7 separate regions of the Homo sapiens genome follow, and regions 1, 2, 3, 5, 6 and 7 are each linked to region 4. The links are contacts of gene promoters, found by promoter capture Hi-C in blood cells and fetal thymus (Javierre and others, 2016). All regions are on one chromosome and are shown on one strand. Each heading gives the region's core, a stretch centred on a gene start or on the middle of the fragment in contact. The rest is flanking DNA. Distances are from core to core; before and after follow the strand shown. Region 1 overlaps WHRN (whirlin). Region 2 has its middle 10 kb from the start of ATP6V1G1. Region 3 has its middle 10 kb from the start of WHRN. Region 4 holds the start of TNFSF8 (TNF superfamily member 8). Region 5 overlaps WHRN (whirlin). Region 6 overlaps TMEM268 (transmembrane protein 268). Region 7 overlaps WHRN (whirlin).

Region 1 (3,176 bases), core at 30-2,529, 460 kb after region 4:
CACTACAGTGTCCCTGTCCCACGGCCCCTTACTCTGCAGTGAGCAGTTAGACCCTGCTGCAGCAGAAGCAGCCACTCCGCCAAGCTCATGTGTCTCCAGCAGCCACAGAAACAAGATGGGACCTGCCCTTCGGCTCAGGCTGCTACAAGCCTGGAACACAAGGAGCAGGGGCTTTGGGCTCAGCAGCACTGGGTTTGAAGCTTGTTTTTGAAACTTCGTGACTGTGTGACCTTGGGCAAGCCACTTAACCTTGGATGAGTCACTTAAGCTTCCGCATCCATGATTGGAGGATGGTCATGCCAGCCATGTGAGGCTGTTTCGAGGATTAATAATCAAGGCTTATAAGCACAGAGCACAGTGCCTGGACATAGTAATGAATTCCAGCAACAACCGTCAGTTACTAAATGCTGACTAGGTACTGGTATTTTCCCCCAAAATATGTACCAAGTACCTATAATGGGCCTGCTGTGTGTACTGGGGATACAGCAGTGAACAGACAAAGAACAGACAACACCTTAGCCACTGTCAAGGGCTGACGCTCTAGTGTGTTGTGGGGGGACCGTAACGGGCATGAAAAGAAATAATATACAGTCTATTGTAAAATGAGGGAGAACCAAGCAAGGAAAGGGCATGGGAGGGTGGTGTGTGCGTGGGGCAGTGTTAGAGAAGGGGCAGGGACGGCCTCACTAAGAAGGTGACAAAAGAAAGGATCTGAAGCTGACAAGGAAATGATCATACACGGATCCGTCCTATCTGGGCAGAGTGCTCCAGGTGGCTGGAGGCCTCAGGCAGGTGAGCAGGGCCTCTTGAGGAGCAGCAGCAAGACCTGTGAGATTACAGAGGAGTGAGGCAGCAGGCATGGGCAACCAGGCCGAGTCTGGGGACTTTCCTCTGAGTGAGATGGCTGCCATGGCAGAGCTTTGAGCAGAGGAGGGACCAGGTGCATATGAGGTTCCAGCCGGACTGTCCAGGCTACTGGATGGAGGGTAGATGGCAGGAGCAAGGGTGGAAGTTGGGAGCCCACGCATCCTCATCCTCACAACAGCCCTGGATGGCGCTATCAGTTAGGGGTGCTTTTGGCTGTGGATCACAGAAAGCCTGTATTTTAGGAGCACACACATTCAGGTGTTCGCTGTTCTCTTCAGAGGTGTAGGGCTGGGCAGCCCGAGCTCTGGTTTGCTAGGGAGTGAGTCTCTCCTTCCTGTTGTTGGCTCTTGCCTTGGGCTCATTGCTTCACAGCTGCAAGATGGCAGCCACTGCACCTGCCATCACAGCCTCTCACAACCGTGCCCAAAGCAGAGTGGGTGAAGGGAGCAGGAGGCCCTTCTCTTCCTGTGTTCCTGTCTTTTCAGAGTGGGGAATCTTACCCAGAATCCCCTAGCAGACATCCCCCACCATGCCTCTTGGCCAAAACTGGCCCAGAATTACCTACATGCATTCCAGTTCCTGGTATAAGGGAATGGATAACCTAGGCTGGTGTCATCTCCTGGAGCTGCTCCGGCTGCCTCTTGGACCTAGTCGAGGCTCCGTGGCAAGGCAGGAAGGGAGATGGCTGCTGGCTTGGCCACAGGCAGTGCTGGCCCCCGGCAGGTTGCACAATTCTTTTTATAGACTGGGCAACTGAAGATCCGAGAAGCAACAGGGCTTTTCCCAAGGGTGCCCAAGAGTGAGGGGCAGAACCAAGACTTGAACTCAGGCCGGTGAGAGGCAGTGTGGTGCATTGGTTAAATGCCCAGGCACTGCAGGCAAGCCAAGTGGCTGGGTATGTGAATCTTAGCCCCATCATTTCATCCCTCAGTGAGAGTTGAGCCTCAGTTTCCTCATCTGGAAAGTGGGGATAACAACAAAACCATAGAGGAGGAGTGAGGATTCAATGAGGTAATGCATATAAAGGGCTGAGTACGGTGCCTGGGACATAGGAAACAGTACATTTGGTGACCAATTGCCTGAGTTATTATTCTATTAATATTATTAGCAGTAGTGGTGTTATTTTCACTGGGCCCGGCTGCTTCTCACAGTGTCATTTGCTTTCCCATAGATGAATTCCGATTCATGCCAAATGGTGGTTGAATTTTCAGCAAGTGATAGAGGCAGATTACCCTGTGCTTGATAGAACTGTTATTACAGTTCTGTGATAAAGACTCATTTTATTCTGATGTAAAGAATTTATGGGGAGGTGGCGGGGAGGTGGGGAGGTTTGTTTTCATCCTTAGTATTCAGAGTGGGCTGCTGCAGACATGGGCTGCCATCTGCGTGTTCCTGGGCTTGACTGCAAAGATGCCCAAGCTTCTCTTGGCTCTCTCCCTGCTGGGATCTTCATGTCCTGGAGCTGGAAGGGCCCCGGGGTGGGGTGGGGCGGGGGACTGACTGCAGGTCACCCAAGGAGCTGGGCTAGATCCTGGGTGTGTAGACCCCAGGCCGGGCCTGGCTTGTTCCAAGGCCTTAAGGTGCAGCATGGAGTGGGGGCTCTGCCAGGCGTGGCAGGAATGGGGATCAAGGCAGGAGCTGCCTACTGTGTCCTCAGCCAGCCTCTCTGTTCTGTCCCTGATCTGAACCCCACCTTCCTCCTACATCACCACCATCGTAAGACCACCACTTCTCATGGGGGATCTCTACAAAGTCACCCCTCTCCTGCTTCCCGTTTCCAGGAGTCTTCCTGCAGTCCACTTTGGAGCCTGTCACTGTCCTGCTCATAGCCCAGCCTCTTAGCCTGGCTCATGGCACCCTCACCAGGGAGGTGAATCTCAGCCATTTCCCCCACTCTCCTGCCACGCTCTGGCCATACAGGACCCGTGTGGTGACTCTTCGGGGCTGCACGCTGTCCTGTGTGTGGGCTTAGCACATGCTGTTGCTCCTGGAATGGCATCTTCCCTCTTCTGTCCCTGGCTGCCTCCCCACCCCGCCCCAGCCTTCAAGTCTCATTGGTCGTATTTCTGGGGAGCTCTGCCTTTGGCTGGGCTCCTGGGAATAGACTCTGAGACAAAGATTTGCCTGAAAAAGGATTATAAGTGTATCCTCAAGTCTGAAGGTATCCACCTCCTCCTCCCTGGAACCTGTGAGTGGAACCCTTATATAGCAAAAGGGATGTTGCAGATGTGAGTACGTGATGGTCTTGACGTGGGGGATTGTCTGGGTGGGCCCCGTGTCATCACGGGGGTCCTTGCAAGATGTAATCA
Region 2 (3,164 bases), core at 84-2,583, 350 kb after region 4:
TTTTAAAATTAAAAAATTAAAATGGATCACGAGGTCAGGAGATCGAGACCATCCTAGCTAACACAGTGAAATCCCATCTCTACTAAAAATAGAAAAAATTAGCCAGACGTGGTGGCGGGCACCTGTAGTCCCAGCTACTCGGGAGGCTGAGGCAGGAGAATGGCGTGAACCTGGTAGGCGGAGCTTGCAGTGAGCCGAGATCGCGCCACTGGCCTCCAGCCTGGGCGACAGAGCAAGACTCCGTCTCAAAAAAAAAAAAATTTAAAAAGATGCACCTTCTGGGCCAAATGGTCACAGTATGGGCTGGATTTTAGCCCAGTCTTGCCTCCAGTCTTGCACTCTAGCCTGAGCAACAGAGCAAAACTCTGTCTCTCTAAAAAAATAAAATAAAAAGTAGAAGTCTAAAAATTGTTTTTAAATTAAAAAAAAAACAGGAAAAGGAAATTTAAAAAACAATCACTTATTTCTCTATAGTTCTGTTTCCTTGTGCCTGCCTTGCAGAGGAGAACTTTGAAATGACCAATCCGCCAGGCGCGGTGGCTCACACCTGTAATCCCAGCACTTTGGAAGTCCGAGGTGGGTGGATCACGAGGTCAGGAGACTCTGCTCGGCTCATTGGAACACTTATTCTATTTTATGGAATGAAGTGTTTAATTTATTTAGGATATTTAAAGATATTTAAATTTAAGATATTTAAACTCTTAGGTTGGGTGCAGTGACTCATGCCTGTAAACCCAGCACTTTGGGAGGCCAAAGCAGGCGGATCACCTGAGGTCAGGCATTTGAGACCAGCCTGGCCAACATGGCAAAACCCCATCTCTACTGAAAATATAAAAAAATTAGCCGGGCATGGTGGTGTGCGCCTGTAATCCTAGCTACTCAGGAGGCTGAGGCAAGAGAATCACTTGAACCCGGGAGGCGGAGGTTACAGTGAGCTGAGATGGTGCCACTGCACTCCAGCCTGGGTGACAGAGCAGGACTCTGTCTCAAAAAAAAAAAAATTATTACAGATATTGTTTAATATTATATTTATATTATGTAAATAATATATTTAACATTTAAACACAATATATGTATATAATAATATTTATTATATTTCAAGCGCTCGATAGCTACATATATATACATATATGCATACAATAGAACATTCTGCTAAGTGAAATGAGCCAGTCACAAAAGGACAAATACTGTATTAATCCATTTATAAGAGGTTCCTAGCATTGTCAAACTTATAGAGACAGAAAGTAGAATGGTGGTTGCCAGGAGCAAGGCGGGTGATGGGGGAGTAGGGAAGAAAGGAATCAGGGGTTGTTTAATATGTAGACAGTTTCTGTTCTGTAAGATGAAAATGTTCTGGAGTTTAATCCCACAACTATATGAATGCAGTTAATGTTACTGAACTGTACACTTAAAAATGGTCAGGATGATAACTTTTATATTATATTTTACTACAATTAAAAATAAAACATTGTTAAAACAAAAAAAATCTATTTTACTTTTTCTCTTTACTTTTAAAAATGTGCCCAACAGGAAAATTTATTACTACTCATGTGGTATGCATTATATTTCTGTTGATGCTACTCTAGAAAACAGAATTTTGATATCCAAGGGTTTTTTAACAAAGTAACTTGATCATGAGAAATAAAAATAAAATCCTAAACCTCCCAGCCAACTGAATGGGCCCCCTCTTGGCCAACCGGATCCCAGAAAATCTTTAAATGCTGAGCTCCCAGTCATGTTGGGACAGGAGGTCAGACACACCTCAGGAGGCCCCTTCCTTACTAACCTCAGCCAGAATTCTTTCCTAAGGAATAAGCAGAGAGCAGCTCTAGAAAACAAGAAACAGATGAGGCGTGGTGGCTCACACCTGTAATCTCAGCACTTTGGGAGGCTTAGCTGGGAGGATTGCTTGAGCTCAGGAGTTCATGACCAGCCTGGGCAACATAGTGAGATCCTGTCTCTACAGAAAAATTTTAAAAATAACATTAATACAGAAAAAAAGGAAACAAGAAACAAAGAATTCATTCCTTTATCACCTCTAGTCAATCACCTGAGGCCGTGACCAGACTCCCCGTCTCTTTTGCAGTTTCCACACAGCAACTGACCAGCACTCCTTCCTGTTAAGAGGTCACCAACCATAGAGCAGTTCTGGGCAGGGTATAGAGGCTGCAGTGAGGGACAGTGAGCTCTGTGTCCTCTGCTTCACCTTTTGACATCAGAGGGCTGAAAACACCTCCCTCAGATCATGCTAATGTCGCAGTTTTTGGAACATGCAACCCATGAAGAGGCATGAAGTTCAATTGTACATGTGCATGTTTCTTGTTTCATAAATATTCATGAGTCCTTCTATAGCTTACTGCGTATGTATACTCAGCCAACCAGCTCAGCATAAATTTCTGTTTTACACTTCCCATTCTTTTTTTTTTTGAAGACAGAGTCACGGTCTGTCACCAGGCTGGCATGCAATGGTATGATCTCAGCTCACTGCAACCTCTGCCTCCTGGATTCAAGCGATTCTCCTGCCTCAGCCTCTTGAGTAGCTGGGACTACAGGCATGCACCACTATGCCCAGCTAATTTTTGTATTTTTTAATAGAGACAGCGTTTCACCATGTTGGCCAGGAGGGTCTCGATCTCTTGACCCCGTGATCCACCCGCCTCAGCCTCCCAAAGTGCTGGGATTACAGGCGTGAGCCACTGCACCGGCCTCTACACTTCCCATTCTTGAAGCTCCTGTTCCCCATCTTCTGTCACAGGCTATGCTTCCCAACCTGTCAGAATGGCCACCTTGTGGATCACCTGAGGTTAGGAGTTCGAGACCAGCCTGGCCAACATGGTGAAACTTCGTCTCTACTAAAAATACAAAAATTAGCCAGGCGTGGTGGCGGGTGCCTGTAATCCCAGCTACTGGGGAGGCTGAGGCAGGAGAATCGCTTGAACCTGGGAGGCACAGGTTGCAGTGAGCTGAGATCGCCCCATTGCCCCACTGCACTCCAGCCTGGGCAACAAGCACGAAACTCCGTCACAAAAAGAAAAAAAAAGAATGGCCCAACTTGCAGGCTGCAACCCTTTATGAGAAATAGAACCCTGCCTTCGAAATTTGTGACCCTCATCACTCTTCAGGTGACAATATAGACTGAAGAATGAGGAAGAGGTAACTAACCA
Region 3 (2,985 bases), core at 67-2,566, 410 kb after region 4:
TAATTCATGTTATCAGTTCATCCTGCAGAAAGTGTGATTTCAGCTCCCATTTATTCGAGGCATCTCCTATCTCCCAGGCAAAGGTGTTAATTGTGACATCAATTGGATGACAAGGGATGTGTAGACCAATTGCTCCCGTAGCCCCAGCCAATTGCCAGCGAACTGACAGGCAAGTGAGTAAGGGCTTCCTAGATCATTCAGCTACCAGCTGAGCCTCCAACTGACCGCAGACCCATGAAAAAGCTCAGCTGACTCACAGAAGTGTGAGCTAAACCGGTGATGGTTAGACAGTGCATTTTGGGATGGTTTGTTACATAGCAGAAACCAACGGACACATGTCTGGTACAAATGTGTAAGAGTTTCCTCCAGGAAATATACCAAGATACGGAGCCACCAGGTCTAGAGTTGGCATTTTTTCAAGCCTACTAGATGCTGCCAAGCAGCTCTCCACAGTGGTCCTGCCAATTTATACTCCCACCAGCCCTGTAAGCACATTCCTTTTGCACCACAACCTTGCCAATACTTGGTAATGTCAGTTATTTTGATTTTGCCAATCTGGTATGTGCGAAATGGTATCTCAATGTTGTTTTAACTTGCAACTCTCTGATCACAAGTGAGGCTGAATATCATTTCTGAGGTTTACTGGTTGAATGAGGTTTCTGAAAAAAAAAAAAAAAAAAAAAAAAAAGAAGACCTTGGTCAGATCTGTGTTTCTGTGTTTCTCTCCCTTCTTGAACTGGCACACTCCCAGACACAAATTAGTCTTCACTTCCGGAGTCCCCTTCCCAACTATTTTACCTGCCTTCTCCTTAAGACTCAGTGCAGGCATTCACTCCTCCAGGAAGCTTTCCTGACTTCCAACCTCCACATTGGGTCAGGTGCTCCCTCTGTGCCCCATCTACCTTCCTCTATTGGAGCACCCACCTCATTGTATTGCAGTTGTCTAACTCTTCCTCTAGAGCAGGGATATTCAATAAAAGTTTGTTGTATGACTGGATGAAACCCAAGCTTTGCCTTTTAAAAGCTTAGCCTCCCAGCCTCAGTTTCCTCATCTGTTGAATGGGGATGATACAGGAATTCTTGGAGAATTGACATGAGTCTTAAATGAAGAAAGGAACATAATGTATCTGATAAAGTAAGCTCTCAGTAAATTGAAGCAAGTATTATTTAGAATAAGGAGGTCTCAATGTTTTTGGTCATGGACCACAGAATTTAGAAAAATGAAACATTGATACGCACACAAGCACAGATACGGTGCACAATTTCTGAGACGTCACAGGTGCTCTGAAGTCATGATCCCCACATTAAGAACCTGTAATCTATAGATATTTATAAATGTCAATTATTTTTACCTTTATGCCCACCATTAGCACCTAATAAATGTTCAGTAAGACAGTGCTGATGAATGAGTTAATTTTGTAAATGGATCAGCAGCCACCCCTGCCCCATGAAATTCCTCAGCCAGTGAGGCTCTTAGCCCATGGTCAGGCTTTCGTTGTCCATCACCTAAAAGGAAAGAGGACTCCCAGACAGTGGAGTGACCTTGGCTTTTTCTGACAAGCAAAAACAATGGCACAAAGCCTTTGCCACATGACCAGCAAAAGCTTCCACAGTCTCCCTGGGCCGGCCACCCTTCCTAACCTCCTCACAGTCCAGTAAAAAATCCTCATTTTCTCCAACTCCAAAATCAGATTCTGAAAGGCAACTGCAAACTCCTTCTTGCTACAGTGCCTTTTAATTAGACAACAAAAAGCCCTGGAGATCATACTGCTCCCTTGTAACGGTGTGTTCCAGAAAATTACTGCCATTGGATTAAATTAAAGAAAGGTTATTCAAGTGACTCGTTAGGCACATTCCAACAGTGTTAGGATAGCACCAGGGCTGTTGTTGCTGTTTTTGTTTTTTTGTTTTTTGTCATGCACAGAGCAAGGAACAAATGCACGTCCTTATGGAAGGTTTTTCATGACACAAACTAGTTCTCATAGAATAGTTAGGATAGGAGAGCCTGAGAAGTCGTGCCTGGAATTGGGACATAAAGATTTTCACCAATTGGAGCTGGAGGAGGAAGCATCTAACATTAGTTGGGAATATACATACTATTATGGGCTGAATTATGTCCTCCCTTACCTCATATTCATATGTGGAAGTCCTAATCCTGAGGACCTCAGAATGTAACTATATTTGGAGATAAGGCCTTTAAAGAGGTAGTTATGATGTTTTAGGGTGAGCCTTAATCCAATATGACTTATAAGAAGAGAAAATTTGGACACAGACATGGGCACATAAACAGGCAAAAGACCATGTGAAGACACAGGGAGAAGGCTGTCTACAAACCAAGGAGAGAGGGCTCAGAAGAAACCAACCCTGTTGACACCTTGATCTTGGACTTCAAGATTCTAGATTTGTGAGAAAATAAATGTCTGTTGTTTAAGTCACCCAGTCCATGGTATTTTGTTACGGCAGCCTGATATGGTTTGGATCTGTGTCCCCACCCAAACTTCATGTTCAATTGGAATCCCCAATGTTAGAGGTGGGGCCTGGTGGGAGGTGATTGGATCATCCGGGTGGATCCTTCGCAGATGGTTTAGTACTATCTCTTTGGTGCTGTTCTGGTGATAGAGTTCTCATGAGATCTGGGTGTTAAAAAGTGTGTAGCACTGGCCAGGTGCGGTGGCTCATGCCTGTAATCCCAGCACTTTGGGAGGCCAAGGCGGGCAGATTGCCTGAGCTCAGAAGTTCATGACCAGCCTGGACAACACGGTGAAACCCTGTCTCTACTGAAATACAAAAAAAATTAGCCGGGCATGGCGGCGTGTGCCTGTAGTCCCAGCTACTCACGAAGCTGAGGCAGGAGAATTGCTTGAACCCAGGAGAAGGAGGTTGCAGTGAGCCAAGATCACGCCACTGCACTCCAGCCTGGGCAACAGAGTGAGACTCCATCTCAAAAAAAAAAAAAAAATGTGTAGCAACTTCCCCCTCTCTCTC
Region 4 (3,422 bases), core at 156-2,655:
GCAGAATGAGCTTCTTCCACGGTGATACCAAATGGAGCTTTCAAAGGCCCACATCTGGAGGCAGCAGCTATGCAGTGATTAACATTTTAAACGGTATTTTGAAATGGAGATCATTAGTAACCACAGATGTGATCTGACTCTGTCCCCCAGGTAATCTGTCTATTGTATCTAAATTCCAGACTTAGCCCAGTAGACAGCTTGGGATGTTTAACAGGAATTGTCCAACACCATCCCCAAATCTATTTTTATTCATGGAGTACTCTGACATCATCTCGCTTGGTCTTCCTGATGACTGTAATGCAGATTGGGAACAGAGAAAGCCATAAAGACTTGTATGATGGCCCAAGGCTAAGAAGGGAAAGGGCTGAGACCACACTTCAGGTTTTAGCTTTCAGGTGCAGTGAAGATTGAATGACTTAGCACGAGCTTTCAGCCAGGCAGGCTGCAAAGTGCACCCAAGTTCTTTCAGTGATCGACACTTGCGACTTAGGTTGAGATAGTTTTCATCCTCCCTGAGCCTCAGTTTTCCCATCTGTAAAAAATAAACATTGCCTGCCTCGGAGGGTGGAGGTGGAAGTGGAATGAAGCCACATGTAACTCCTAGCGCTGTGCCTGAGACAGTAGAGGTTCAATTATAGTAGTCACATACACACACAACACATACATACACAAGACACAACACACCACACACAACACATACATACACACCACACACAACACTTACATACGCACCACACTCGGCATGCATTGCAGATCACAAATGCACACCACACACACACTGCATACATATACCATAGAGAACACACAACACCTACACATACCCCCATACCACAAATACACACACACTACATAGTACACCACGCAGAACACACACAGCCCCCATATTCCACACCACACCATCTCACTGCCAATTCCTTCCCCTCTTCATGAGTTTTACGGCAGGTCCAGGTTCATCTGCCAGTTTAACAGATCCCAAAACTTCTGCAGGAGTGTTTGTTCAAAAGATTGATATTTCCAGATTCCTGCTTTCTGACAGTATCTTTGAACCCCAAATTTCATACTGCCATGAGCCAGTCCCCCTTTGGAGAAATATCTCCATTTGTGTGCCCTTTTTCCCCCAGGGAACCTGCAGCATGTCCCTTTTTCAGCAGTAGCCTATCAAACCGAACCCTTTGGAGTTATTACACTGCAGTCCGAGGGATCCGGCCTCCCTGAGACCCAGCAAGGACTCATTATCTGGGGAGGTCTTCTGAGCCACAGGCCTCGCTGAAAGAAGGTGCAGCTTCTTGAACAGGAAGGCGTTTTGTGGCAGAGTCTAAACGAAACAGAAGTTGCTTTGTGTGTGCGCACGCATGCACACACACACACACACACACACACATACACACACACAGTCGGGGAACCGTCATTTTCCTACGCGCCCTCTGACATCAGCCACCTTCTCTGTAGCTAGTTTCTCTGCACACAACTTAATCCCTGGCAATGAAAAATGAACCTCTCCCCCACCCTTGCTGCCGCCTCTCGCCTCACGCCCCCAGAGAAGAGTTTCTCCACCAGGCAGCAGGTGAAGGTTTTTTTCCAAGTCACATGATTCAGGATTCAGGGGGAGAATCCTTCTTGGAACAGAGATGGGCCCAGAACTGAATCAGATGAAGAGAGATAAGGTGTGATGTGGGGAAGACTATATAAAGAATGGACCCAGGGCTGCAGCAAGCACTCAACGGAATGGCCCCTCCTGGAGACACAGCCATGCATGTGCCGGCGGGCTCCGTGGCCAGCCACCTGGGGACCACGAGCCGCAGCTATTTCTATTTGACCACAGCCACTCTGGCTCTGTGCCTTGTCTTCACGGTGGCCACTATTATGGTGTTGGTCGTTCAGAGGACGGTAAGTGGACTCCTCTTCCTCCCTTTCCTTTTCTTGTTGTTTTCCCGAGAGAAAGAGCCCTGGGAACAAATGATATTCGTTTGTTGGTTAAGAGCACAAAATAAAATTAAATAAATAAACTCTCTCTCTCTATATATATATATATACTATAGTATATACTGTATAACGTAATACACTTATGTTACATAATATATATTATATTATACAGTATATATTATATATATATATATATATGAGAAAGGGAGAAAAGAAAGAGGAACTTAACTCTCTAAAATAATTTGGCTTGTTGAGAAAAATATTGTTAGACCATCATCTTAAAACTTTGCAGATCTGTCTGAGCAAAACAGTGGAGGGGAGCTATTGGCCTTTTAAAGTTAAGATTTAAATCTTAATGAGCCAGAGACCCATATCAAGGAAGGAAGCAATAGAGAAACCTGATAACACATTTGCACAAGTTGTTATCATGTCTTCAAGGACTTCAGACTGGATTCTGAGGTTCTATATCCTAAGTCTGAGTGTCCTGGAGGTTTCTGAGGCCTCACCCATTGCCAAGAGTTTTGTTTTTGCTTTTGTTTTATACAAGGAGCTAAGTTTCAGAGGCCAAGGTCTAGAAGGAAAGGAGGCGAAAGAGAAGACCATGGCTTCTTAGAGCTTTGGACATTTTGGTGTTAAAGCCAGCAAGACAAATCGAAAGCTTCCTCTTAAGCCACAACTTTGAAGAAGTTAGGGCGTCACAAAAAAAAAAAAAAAAGAAACAGCACATAGAAGCAGAAAGTTGAAAGGTTTTTAGCACCTGTTCTCTCTGATGTTCCTCACAATACTAAGCAATCGTTGGGTACACACTGTACAGGGTCAGACTGTCTTCGGAGATTTACTTTGAAGTAAATGGTAAGATTTGTTTCTGAAAACAGAAGAGGAGGAGAAAGAGGAAGCTTCTTCATATTTTAGAAAATTGGTGTTTACAGAGAATCTACCAGTATATATTATATAGAAAATGCTGTAGTAATAGCATATATTGCTCATGAATTTTTTGATGAAGTTGTTAATGGGTAATTTAAGAGCTGCACCCACCCACATGACCTGCCAAAGTGAGAATATTTCTGTTTCTTACTTCATAGTGCCTACTTTTCGTGGTATTATAATCCTGCTGAATTTATTCTGGTTTTTCTTCAGTTTTCTTAGGCCAAGTACTCTATAGCTTATCAATTGCTGGAAAGAACTAGGCTTTAAAAGGCTTTGATATCTATTTCTCAAGTGTCATCAAGCTTTGAAATTAAATGGAAGCTTTGAAGCTCATATCTCTACAAAAGTGAAAAGAAGGAGTTGCAAATATTTGATTTAGATAGTGGAATTCTTAAAACTCATAATTTAATGGCTTATCTACATCTATTAAGTATAATAATCTTGAAAACACTTTAGGACATCTTTTCTTCTGCAGGGGCTCTGCAATTTCTGTAATTCTAATTTGGAGTGAACCAAGGGTATGTCATTTTATAGCAATGGCCAAAGAAAAGAAATTGAAGTGTCCTTTAAGA
Region 5 (3,254 bases), core at 359-2,858, 440 kb after region 4:
ATTTATCACAAGAGTTTTGCATTTCAGTGTCATCAAATCTATCATTATTTTTCAGACATCGGCCGAGTAGGTTTTTAGGAAATGGCTGATTAATCCACCTTGAATTCAGATTTTTCATCTGAGCTTGAATTAAATTGGAAGCCCATCACCTTTTCAACTGAGAATTGTCAAAAAGTGATGAGGCACAGGGATGTCAAGAGTCTGGGAGGAGACTAAATCCCATCAACGTATCTATTCATGGAATGAGAAAACGATATGGATATAAACAGATATTCCTGATGGATCTCTGTGCTTCGGACATCGATCCCAGACAACAAAATGTGCCATTGCAAACCCATTGGGGCTCATCTTGAGTGAATATATTTATGACTCTGAGAATCTTGTTCTTCCTTAAAGAAAAAAAAAGAATAAACAGACAAAACTTAAAAGAACATTTATAAAGCAATTTACTTAAATTATAACAGACTAAAAGCCAGGCTTTGAGGATAATTGAAGAATTGCATTAAAGAGGAATCAATATCTTTCTGGAATCTGTTCTGTCCTTATGAGTTGTTTTGCAAAGGGGTGGACAGCCTATCTGTCACTTTGTTGCAAATTTCTTGTAGCATTATTCCCAAGGTCAGGATTTTATCCCTCTCTTTGAAGGTTTATGTTTTTTTCTTTTCACACAGCCTTAACTCACCCAAACATTTAGAAGCAATGACAGTGGAGAGCAGGGACTTTAAAATGTCAGGTCTTTCTTCCAGCCTCTGAGATCCCGGCATTCGCAGCATGGAAGCAAAGGTTTCCTTCTGCATCCTTACATTGAACCCTCAGAGAAGGTCAAACTCTTAAAAGAGGGTGGAAGGAATGAACAGTTGGTTTTTATATCTTTTTTAAAAAAAACTTTTTCTTTAAATGTTCTTCTTTCCTTAAATACTCTCCTATCCAGCCGTTGGTTTTTAAAAACCTACTTCGTGAGGCCCAAATTAAAGGCATATCTAAATAGCACTAAAGAAAACCAGAAAAGGGGAGAAGACACCCACGTTCCCATCCTTCTAACTGGACATCATACATTTCTCTGCCATCTCCCCTGGCCTTTATCCTTGTGTATTCACATTTCCTCAATTGTCGAATCACCTGCTTCCTTGCATTTCTTTTTGACGTATGTTGTCATTGCGTTTAATGATCCTTATGTTGGGCTGCATTTCAGGGATGGGGTCTTGGATGAGTTCACACCAATGCTCTGTGGTCCACTCGATTTACCCTGGGATGCAGCAGCGCAAGGAAGCGAGGTGGCCGCACAGAGCCGGAGCAGATGGACCGTGTCGTGGCATGGCTGTGTCGCGGGTCCTGGCTCCCTGATGAGCACACAGATGTTGAGGATGCTACTGTGAAGCCACAGTTCTTTGAGAAACAGAATTCTTACCACACCATTGCCCAGTTATGTCATCATTCCAAAATAATATAAGAATAACAATTTTTGGACTTTTGTTTAAGAGAATGTTTACAAATGACATGTGTTCTTAGACCAAACTCAGTAGCTGCAGAGCCTTTCTATAGAGTGGAGGGAGAGAGGTAGGAGGAGAAAGCAGAATGATTGCCCAAGCATCTGTAAAAAGGATCTCCATCTCCAGCTGCATAGAAAAGGTATCTAATTCTAGAAATGTGCTTAGATTTTAGTGTTTATTCACTCAGCAGTGGTTTTATTGAGCATCTACCATGTGAATGGTGTAGTTTAACCCCCGCTTTAAACTTTACATATCTCATTTGCTTATTTACTAATACATTTATAATTAAGATTCTTACTTAAGTCAAAAGTAATGGAGTGAGTTAACCTGAAAAGCACTTCATTAAAAAGGTAGAGGAATCAGAAGTGATCTTGGAAAGTGTGTGTGTGTGTGTGTGTGCACGCGTGTGTGCGTGTGTGTGTGTACGTGTGTGTGCGTGTGTGTGTGTGTGTATGTGTGTGTGGTGCCTTTGATAGGAACAGTATTTATATTGAAATTGAATTCTGAGCCCCCTAGCAACCAAGGCAAAAGGAGAAATTAATGGATTATTTCCATTCTACTAGAGAAATCATTGGTAACTTCAGGAGAGGTAAATTTCCTTATTGGTGTTCAATTCCAAGAAGAAAGCATCCTTTCATTTCTTCACTGTCTCTTTATGTGGAATCTCTTACCATCTCCTATGTTTTCTATTTATTGATACATCTCTGATCAAGCCACAACAATTTCTTGCCTTCCTGGTCAACTGAGAAGAGTGTAGATAATAAAATAATCATTTGCATAAGTAAGTATGTTGAGATATGTACTTTCAGGGACAGAGCATCACGTGCAAAGGCCTGAAGTGGAGAAGAGCTTGGAGTACTTGATCCTATAAGACAGCTCAGGTGGCAGGGCAGGAGATGAGGCTGGCCAGGCATCAGGACCAGGCGCACAGGCCCAAGATGCACTGTGGGGAGTTTTATAGCAGAAGCAATGGGGAGAGTTTGGGGCAGGGAAGGGTCAGAGTCCACGTATGTTTTATAAGGATTCTCTGGTTGCTCTGCAGTGACTGGGCTGAGAGAGGAGGCTGGGAAGCTGTTGCAGTTAGTGGTCCCTGTAAGAGGTAATTAACACAGATGAAAATGGTACAGATGGAAGGAGCTTGGAAGACAGAGTGCTAATTAGGGTTTTACTTTCTCATGACATTAAAATAAGCTACTGGGGCAGAGTCCGCATCACCAATTTCTGTCCTCCCTCAAAGCAGGGCTAAATGGGAAGGGACTTTCCAGTCCATGTGGCTGGACACAGCACCTGCTCGGGGTTCAAGACCCTAAGGGACTTTCTTTTGTTTACATCCTGTGAGGCCCATGTCCTTTTTAAAAACCCTCCCCTGTCTGTCTTGGGCCAAGGTGTAGGATTGGCCTGGTGTTTAAGGGGGTGTGAATCCCCTTAAACTGCTGGTGAGAGGGCAATGGAGAGAAGCGAGGAGAGAGGTATAAAAGCCCTGCCTTTTATCTTCTGTGACCGTGCATAGACACTTCACCACCTAGAATCGCTTTCCTCATCTGTGCAGTGGGAAGAATAAAATGTGGCATCATCGCTGTAATTTTGCTGTTACTAATGCTACCCACTATTTGCCAAGCACCTCCTGTGCGCCCTGCCCAGTGCAAGATGCTTTATGCACATTTTCTCATTGGCCCTCATTCAGTTTACATGACAGCTCCATGAGCATAGGCGTTATGGCCCCTTTTAATAGGTGGGAACACTGAGGCCAGAGAAGTTAAGTAA
Region 6 (2,971 bases), core at 385-2,884, 310 kb after region 4:
CACAATGTGAGACCATATAAGGAAGAATTTTCCAAGAGCAAAAGCTGTCCCCATAAAAAATAGGCATTTTTTGTCCCCACAAAAAAATGTTCCCCAACACAAGGAATATTTAAACAGAGACTGAAAAACTACATTGAGGGGGGTGATGCAGTGGACCTTTATTTAAGCATTGCAAAGAATGCTCAGCTGAATAAGTTAAATTCCCAGTAGGCTCAGAGAGTCTAAGTAAGAAATAACTGGTCACAGTAGGCAGAACAATGGCCCCAAAGATGTCCACACCCTAATCCCCAGAGCCTGCAAATATACTGCCTTCCATGGCAAAGGGTGGAAGTAAGGGGGCTCATTAGCTGGCCTTTAATAGGGAGACTATCCTGAATCATCCGGGTGGGCCCCATGAAATCACAAGGAACCTTAAACGTGGAAAAGCGGGACAGAAGTAGAGTCAGAGGGAGATTTGACTATGGATGAAAGGCAAGGAGGGATGTGGCATCGATCGCTTTGACCATGGAGGGAGAGGGCCATGAGCCAGGGAATGTGGGTGGCCCCAAGGGGCTGGACAAGGAAAGGAAATGGATTCTCCCCAGAGCCTCCAGAAAGAAAAACAGTCCTGCCACCAAGGGGATTTCGGCTCAGTGAGATCAGTGTCAGACATCTAACTTACAGAACTATGAAATAACAAATCCAGCTGGGTGCAATGGCTCACACCTATAATCCCAGCACTTTAGGAGGCCGAGGCAGATGGATCGCCTGAGGTCAGGAGTTCGAGACCAGCCTGGCCAACATGGTGAAACCCTGTCTCTACTAAAAACAAAAATTAGCCGGGCGTGGTGGCACGTGCCTGTAATCCCAGCTACTGGGGAGGCTGAGGCAGAATTGCTTGAACCTGGGAGGTGGAGGTTGCAGTGAACCGAGATCACGCCATTACACTCCAGCCTGGGCAACAAGAATGAAACTCCATCTCAAAATAAATAAATAAATAAATAACAAATCTGTGGTTGGTTTGGCTTGTTGTTGTTGTTGTTGTTGTTGTTGTTTTTTGGAGACAGAGTCTCTCTCTGTCACTCAGGCTGGAGTGCAGTGGCACGATCTCAGCTTACTACAATCTCCACCTCCCAGGTTCAAGTGATTCTTGTGCCTCAGCCTTTCAAGTAGCTGGGATTACAGGCATGCACCACCATGCCTGGCTAATTTTTGTATTTCAGTAGAGACACAGTTTCGCCATGTTGGCCAGGCTGGTCTCAAACTCCCAGCTTCATGTTATCTGCCCGCCTCGGCCTCCCAAAGTACTGGGATTACAGGCATGAGCCACTGCACCTGGCCCAAATCCGTGGTTTTAAGCCAGTATGTTAGTGGTAACTTGTTATAGCAGCAATAGAAAACTAATACACTGATTTACTGTAATCCCTCCTACGTATGGCTGCAACACACTCCGCATTTCAAAAGCATAAAATACGTGTTTATTCCCTCAAAAAACACGCATCAACCCAGGCTGCTCACAACTGCTACCAAAGCCCCCGCCCTCCAAGGGTAGGATGAAGCCAGACCATGAGACCAGCTGGAGAGAAAAGTCTGGACTGAAATCCCCTCAAGACCAGGGAGGAATGGCAGCAGCACAAAGCCAAACCTACCTGCCTGCAGTTCCAAGTAGAGAAACTGGACAAAAGGATCGAGATCTCCTTGCACCACAGTACAAGGCCCTGTGAGCCACTGGTCAGCAGCCAGGAGGTCTGGGGGGTGGGAGAGATTCCAGCCCTGGGATTCTAGGATCCCAGGTTTCAGCCATGCACTGCTGAGGACTGGATATTTTGGCATATTCTCTATGGCGGCTGCTTAGACAATGAGGCAGGACAGAAGAGATTAAAGCATAAGTGTGTTGTCTGCTGATCCAAAACTCCTGTCACCCCAGTCTAGCTCTGAACAGTACTTGAGTCTTCAAAGCCAAATGACTCACTCCACTTTCCAGGAAATTCCTGGCCTATCCAAACCCTCTCTCTCCCTGCTCCCCCAATGTATCACCAAGCCCTGCCAACTAGGCAAACAAAACATCTGTCCACTCTGTGCCCTCCTGGCATCCTCACCTCTCCCTTGGCCCTCTGCAGTAGCCTCCTAAGTGGCTTCTGCTGCAAACCTACCTTTACTTCTACAATGCATCTTCCACACAGTGGCCAGGGTGCAGATCAGATGACACCAATGCCTTGAGAAAACTTTCAATCGCTTCCTGTTGCTTTGCAAAAGCCAACCTTGTTACCACGTTCTTCCAGCCCTTAGGAAAACTAGCCTCCTGCCAGACTCAGCTTGAGCCCCTCAGCCTCGTTCTATGTCTCACCACACCCGCCTCCTTCAGTCCCTGAACATGATGTTCTCCCCCACCCCAGGGCCTTTGCATATACTGTTCCTCTCTCTAGGACACGTCTACCTAGCTTCACCCAGTTACAGCCCATGCATCATTTGTATCCCAGCTCATGATTCACTTTCCCCAGAGAGGCCTCCTTGACACTCTAAACTCCTAACTGATCAAATCCTCTGCTAAACCTACCATAACTGACGCTCTTCTCCTTAATACTCGCCCAAGCTAAATACCTATGTATGCAATTATTTGATTACATATGCATGAAATTACTTGAATAAAATCTATCTTTTCCACCAGACTATACACTCTCACACTGGTTTGTTCATCACTGAATCCCCTGATCTGATACAAACAGGAGGCACATTAAATACACGTTTGGTGTATAAACAAATTAATAAGATAGGAAAAGGTTCTTTTTCTTTTTTTTTTTTTTGAGACAGCATCTCACTCTGTCACCCAGGCTGGAGTGCAGTGACACTAACATGGCTCACTGCAACCTCCACCTCCCAAGGCTCAAGCAATCCTCCCACGTCAGCCTCCCAAGTAACTGGGATCATAGGCATGCACCACCACACTCAGCTAATTTTTTTTTTAATTTTTTATTTTGTAGAGATGAGGTCA
Region 7 (3,191 bases), core at 420-2,919, 500 kb after region 4:
GTTTTGATTGATGGCTGGGTTAGAGCAGGCCTTCATTGAGGCTTCCTGTGTGGTGAATAGAGTAAGCAGGTACTAACAACGGATCTGCCAATGTCAGAAGAGAGAACCGGAAGGAAGCATAGACCATATTGGGAGTCAGTGTGCATTAGCCTTGCCGGGTCCATCCACAGCATTTCTGGTTAGGTTCTGCCTTGTGAGAGCTCTAAACCAGAGAGGGTTGGGTGAAGAGCTCACCCAGACCCAGCCCATACCCTGAGCTTGCTCCAGGAACTGTCTTAGCAATTACCTGCATCTTTTTATTTTCTTTTTCAAAATATGGACAAGCTTTACTGACTTTTGAACTGTTGGGAAAAACTAATGTCTCATTAAAACTGTATTGCTTACTTGTAATGAAAGAAAAAAAAACAGCCCATTAAAGTTTTACACCTGACATGGAAAACTATTAAAGATTCATAATTGCAATAAAACTCTTTAATAGAATTTGAATTTTCCTTGTGATAATGCTGTAGCCAACAGGGACCTCCCTTGAAGCCGCAAGATCCATTTTAACACAGGCTTGGGAGGGTGCTGAAGGCAACTCTGAAATCGGCTTCTTTCGGGCCCTTCCCAGCGTGGCTGGTACAGGTGCACGCGCGGCCTGAGAGGATGGATTCCCGTCTCCCAGCTCAGCCTCGGGATCAGGTTGTTGGCAGCCTTCTCTCCTAACAACTTCTGGCGAGGGAGCTCGAAGCTACTGCCATTCCGCCACAGGTTCTTCCTGCCAGTTCCCTTCATCGGGCACGAATACAGCACCTACTGAGTGCATGGCCTAAAGCCCAGGGCTGGGAGGGGTAAGAAGTAGAGGAAGGGCAGGCTGGCTTTTCTTAAAGGAGAGTGTGGTATTGGTTCGTGCAGGGGCCTTGCTGGCTGGTAGAATGAAGGCCAGATCCCAGCTCTTAATGACTCTACTTCCCGTCCTCGGCTTCCTCATCTGTAAAATGGGATTAAAATATGAGTTTCATGGGTGTGGTCAATGTGTGTAGGTCAGTGGAAGCCAGAGGCAGGGCCCTGGGGAAGGTAGGTGGAAAGGTAGAGGGTGGCGCTGAGAGACACCCTGGAGGTAGAATTGCTAGATTTGGTTGGTGAGTGATCAACAGGTGAATTCAGGGATAAGCATGGCTTTCAAAAATGCATTTATTGCATTTATGGCCCCATGGAGACCCATGCAGTTACTGTATGTTAGCTACTTGTTTATGTGCTTTATACTTGTTCATTCAGTAAATATTTATTGAGCACCTACTATGTGCCAGACCCTGTTTTAAGTGTTGGTGATACACTGGGGAATGTATTAACTCATTTGTCAACCAGGTACTGATATGATCTCTATTTTCCAGAGGAGGTAACAGGCACAGAGAAGTGAAGTCAATTACCCAAGGTCATACAGCAAGTAAGTGACAGAGTGTAGAATTAGTCAGAGACTCCTGGGTCTGTGCTCAGAAACACACACCAGATGGCCACTGGTGTACTTTGCACAACACACTAGCTGTTAGTGGTCTTGTTCCCATTTTGGGAAGGAAGGCTTAGAACAATGAAATTATTTTCCTCAGGTCTCTTGGAGAGTAAGAGGGCTCCGTTAACCCAGCAAGGTCCACTGAGTGTTTCCGCTGTTACGAGGGTCCCCTCTCCTCCTGGGGCTCCTGCGCCTGCCCCAGACCTAAGGGAATTGAATTCTCTGCTTACTGGTGGTTGGCCAATTTCAGGGAAATCGGTATCCTGCCCTTATTGAAGCCCCGCCGTGCTCTTCTCAAAGTGTCTGAACATGAGCCAGTCACTCAGTGGGCTGTGGATGATGGAGGAGTCTTTCCTCTGCCTTAAAATGAAGGGCATTCCATGGTCCACCCTCCACTCCTCCATCAGTGGTGACAAATAGGATTCCCATGGTGACAAATAAAATAAAGCTGCCTTTATTCGTTTATCTTTCCTTGTCCTCCCCATCAGTGCCCTGCAAGCAAGCTGAGCAATATTAGACACTCGATCACACTTGGCACCTGTCTCTCCTATCTCCAGCACGTCCTGTCCCAGTGAGCTCTGGTGGAGGGATATGAGTGTTTCCACGGTTAGCTGTGGGTCTGGGCTTTGCTGTTGCCTTGCTCTGTGGCCCTAGACATGTTCCTGTCCTTTCTGAGCCTTGGATTCTGCATCTATAAGAGACGCCTTGGAAGGCCCCGATGGATACAGCATCTTTGCCTCTATTTTCTGCTTTATTTTCCTGTGCCGTCTAACTCTGAGTTGGTTTCAGTGGGTAGGAAAAAGCCACATTGCAATGAACAAACAAACAGAGCTCTTAGTTTTCTTTGGGAAAGAGTGAGAGTAAGATCTTTAAACATGCTGCCTCCAAATTCACTCACACCAACTGACGGGAAAGGGGAAACAAACAGAAGTGAGAACAAGAGAGGAGGAAGGCCGGGTCCCCCCATCCATTCACTATTTCCTAAGCATCTCCCGCATGCCAGTGCTGTGCTGGGGTGAAGGTGGCATAGGCTGGTAGGAAGAAGATGAGAAGATTAGGCTCAAAGGCTGGTTCATTTGTTTACTTCCAGTACGACCAGTGACCTTGAGCAAGTCCCTCAACATCTCTGAACCTGTCTCCTGTATCTGGAAGAGAAGCACATGAGAAGCCATGGAAAGCCTGATGTGTCTCAGGCTCTGTGCAGGGTGGTTCCATTTGATTCTCACAGCTACCTGGGAACTAGTGGTAGTATCATGCCCATCTTATAGATGACAAAACTGAGACTCAGGTTGTACTTGAGAGCTGTGCGGGGCCACTCAGCTACTATGTCACGGTTGCCTGGCTTTAAAACTAGAGGCTGCAATGTAGGGATGGGACTCCACACTCCACTGGCCACACGGGGTGACACTAGGACACTAGCAGCAGAGAAGACACCAGACTTGGTTGAAAGTGGTTTGTGGACTCTACATCACAGTGATCGTGTAGACAGCTCTTCTGACAGGGCTCCTAGACCTGGGGAAGCTTTCCAACAAGTAGAGGAAAAGGGAGAGAGCTGGACACAGAAAAATGGGAGCCACTCAAAACCAACTCACATGCTGCGGAGGGCCCTGTGGAGACCCTGAAGCCAGTCCTACCTAGCACTTTGGTTTGAACACAGGCTCTGGAGGAAGAAGAGACAGGAGAGGATTGAAAAGAGATTGGG

Evidence for each region. The method cuts DNA at HindIII sites, captures the fragments that hold promoters and counts their contacts. A CHiCAGO score of 5 or more calls a contact.
Region 1: a contact is called between a fragment that was not itself captured here and the fragment with the promoter of TNFSF8 in region 4, in 1 of 17 cell types (naive B cells). The highest score is 5.1, in naive B cells.
Region 2: a contact is called between a fragment that was not itself captured here and the fragment with the promoter of TNFSF8 in region 4, in 2 of 17 cell types (total B cells and activated CD4 T cells). The highest score is 6.0, in total B cells.
Region 3: a contact is called between a fragment that was not itself captured here and the fragment with the promoter of TNFSF8 in region 4, in 4 of 17 cell types (fetal thymus, naive B cells, total B cells and 1 more). The highest score is 7.7, in fetal thymus.
Region 5: a contact is called between a fragment that was not itself captured here and the fragment with the promoter of TNFSF8 in region 4, in 11 of 17 cell types (monocytes, naive CD8 T cells, fetal thymus and 8 more). The highest score is 7.2, in monocytes.
Region 6: a fragment that was not itself captured here is called in contact with the fragment with the promoter of TNFSF8 in region 4 in 8 of 17 cell types (naive B cells, activated CD4 T cells, non-activated CD4 T cells and 5 more); the score reaches 9.6 in naive B cells.
Region 7: a fragment that was not itself captured here is called in contact with the fragment with the promoter of TNFSF8 in region 4 in 12 of 17 cell types (naive B cells, total B cells, endothelial precursors and 9 more); the score reaches 10.2 in naive B cells.

The regions. Positions count from the first base shown.
Region 1 is chr9:114,469,998-114,473,173 of GRCh38, reverse strand. All of the region lies in intron 2 of WHRN (whirlin), which reads left to right. Among named protein-coding and RNA genes, the nearest start is that of WHRN, 34 kb to the left of the region's middle. The HindIII fragment of the contact is 2,018 bases long and covers 271-2,288 here.
Region 2 is chr9:114,576,224-114,579,387 of GRCh38, reverse strand. No RefSeq gene overlaps it. Among named protein-coding and RNA genes, the nearest start is that of ATP6V1G1, 10 kb to the left of the region's middle. The HindIII fragment of the contact is 3,671 bases long and covers 1-3,164 here.
Region 3 is chr9:114,514,333-114,517,317 of GRCh38, reverse strand. No RefSeq gene overlaps it. Among named protein-coding and RNA genes, the nearest start is that of WHRN, 10 kb to the right of the region's middle. The HindIII fragment of the contact is 580 bases long and covers 1,027-1,606 here.
Region 4 is chr9:114,928,574-114,931,995 of GRCh38, reverse strand. TNFSF8 (TNF superfamily member 8) reads left to right here and starts at 1,405. Exons shown (of 4, transcript NM_001244.4): 1 at 1,405-1,887. The coding sequence starts at 1,693. RefSeq lists an enhancer at 1,752-2,311. The HindIII fragment of the contact is 2,687 bases long and covers 1-2,583 here.
Region 5 is chr9:114,488,152-114,491,405 of GRCh38, reverse strand. The region is part of intron 1 of WHRN (whirlin); the gene reads left to right. It overlaps LOC124902254 (a long non-coding RNA gene), which reads left to right. Exons shown (of 2, transcript XR_007061743.1): 2 at 56-431. Among named protein-coding and RNA genes, the nearest start is that of WHRN, 16 kb to the left of the region's middle. RefSeq lists an enhancer at 2,654-2,713. The HindIII fragment of the contact is 4,875 bases long and covers 1-3,254 here.
Region 6 is chr9:114,621,158-114,624,128 of GRCh38, reverse strand. All of the region lies in intron 2 of TMEM268 (transmembrane protein 268), which reads right to left. Among named protein-coding and RNA genes, the nearest start is that of TMEM268, 11 kb to the right of the region's middle. The HindIII fragment of the contact is 3,669 bases long and covers 1-2,971 here.
Region 7 is chr9:114,430,808-114,433,998 of GRCh38, reverse strand. All of the region lies in intron 3 of WHRN (whirlin), which reads left to right. Among named protein-coding and RNA genes, the nearest start is that of AKNA, 44 kb to the right of the region's middle. The HindIII fragment of the contact is 2,686 bases long and covers 327-3,012 here.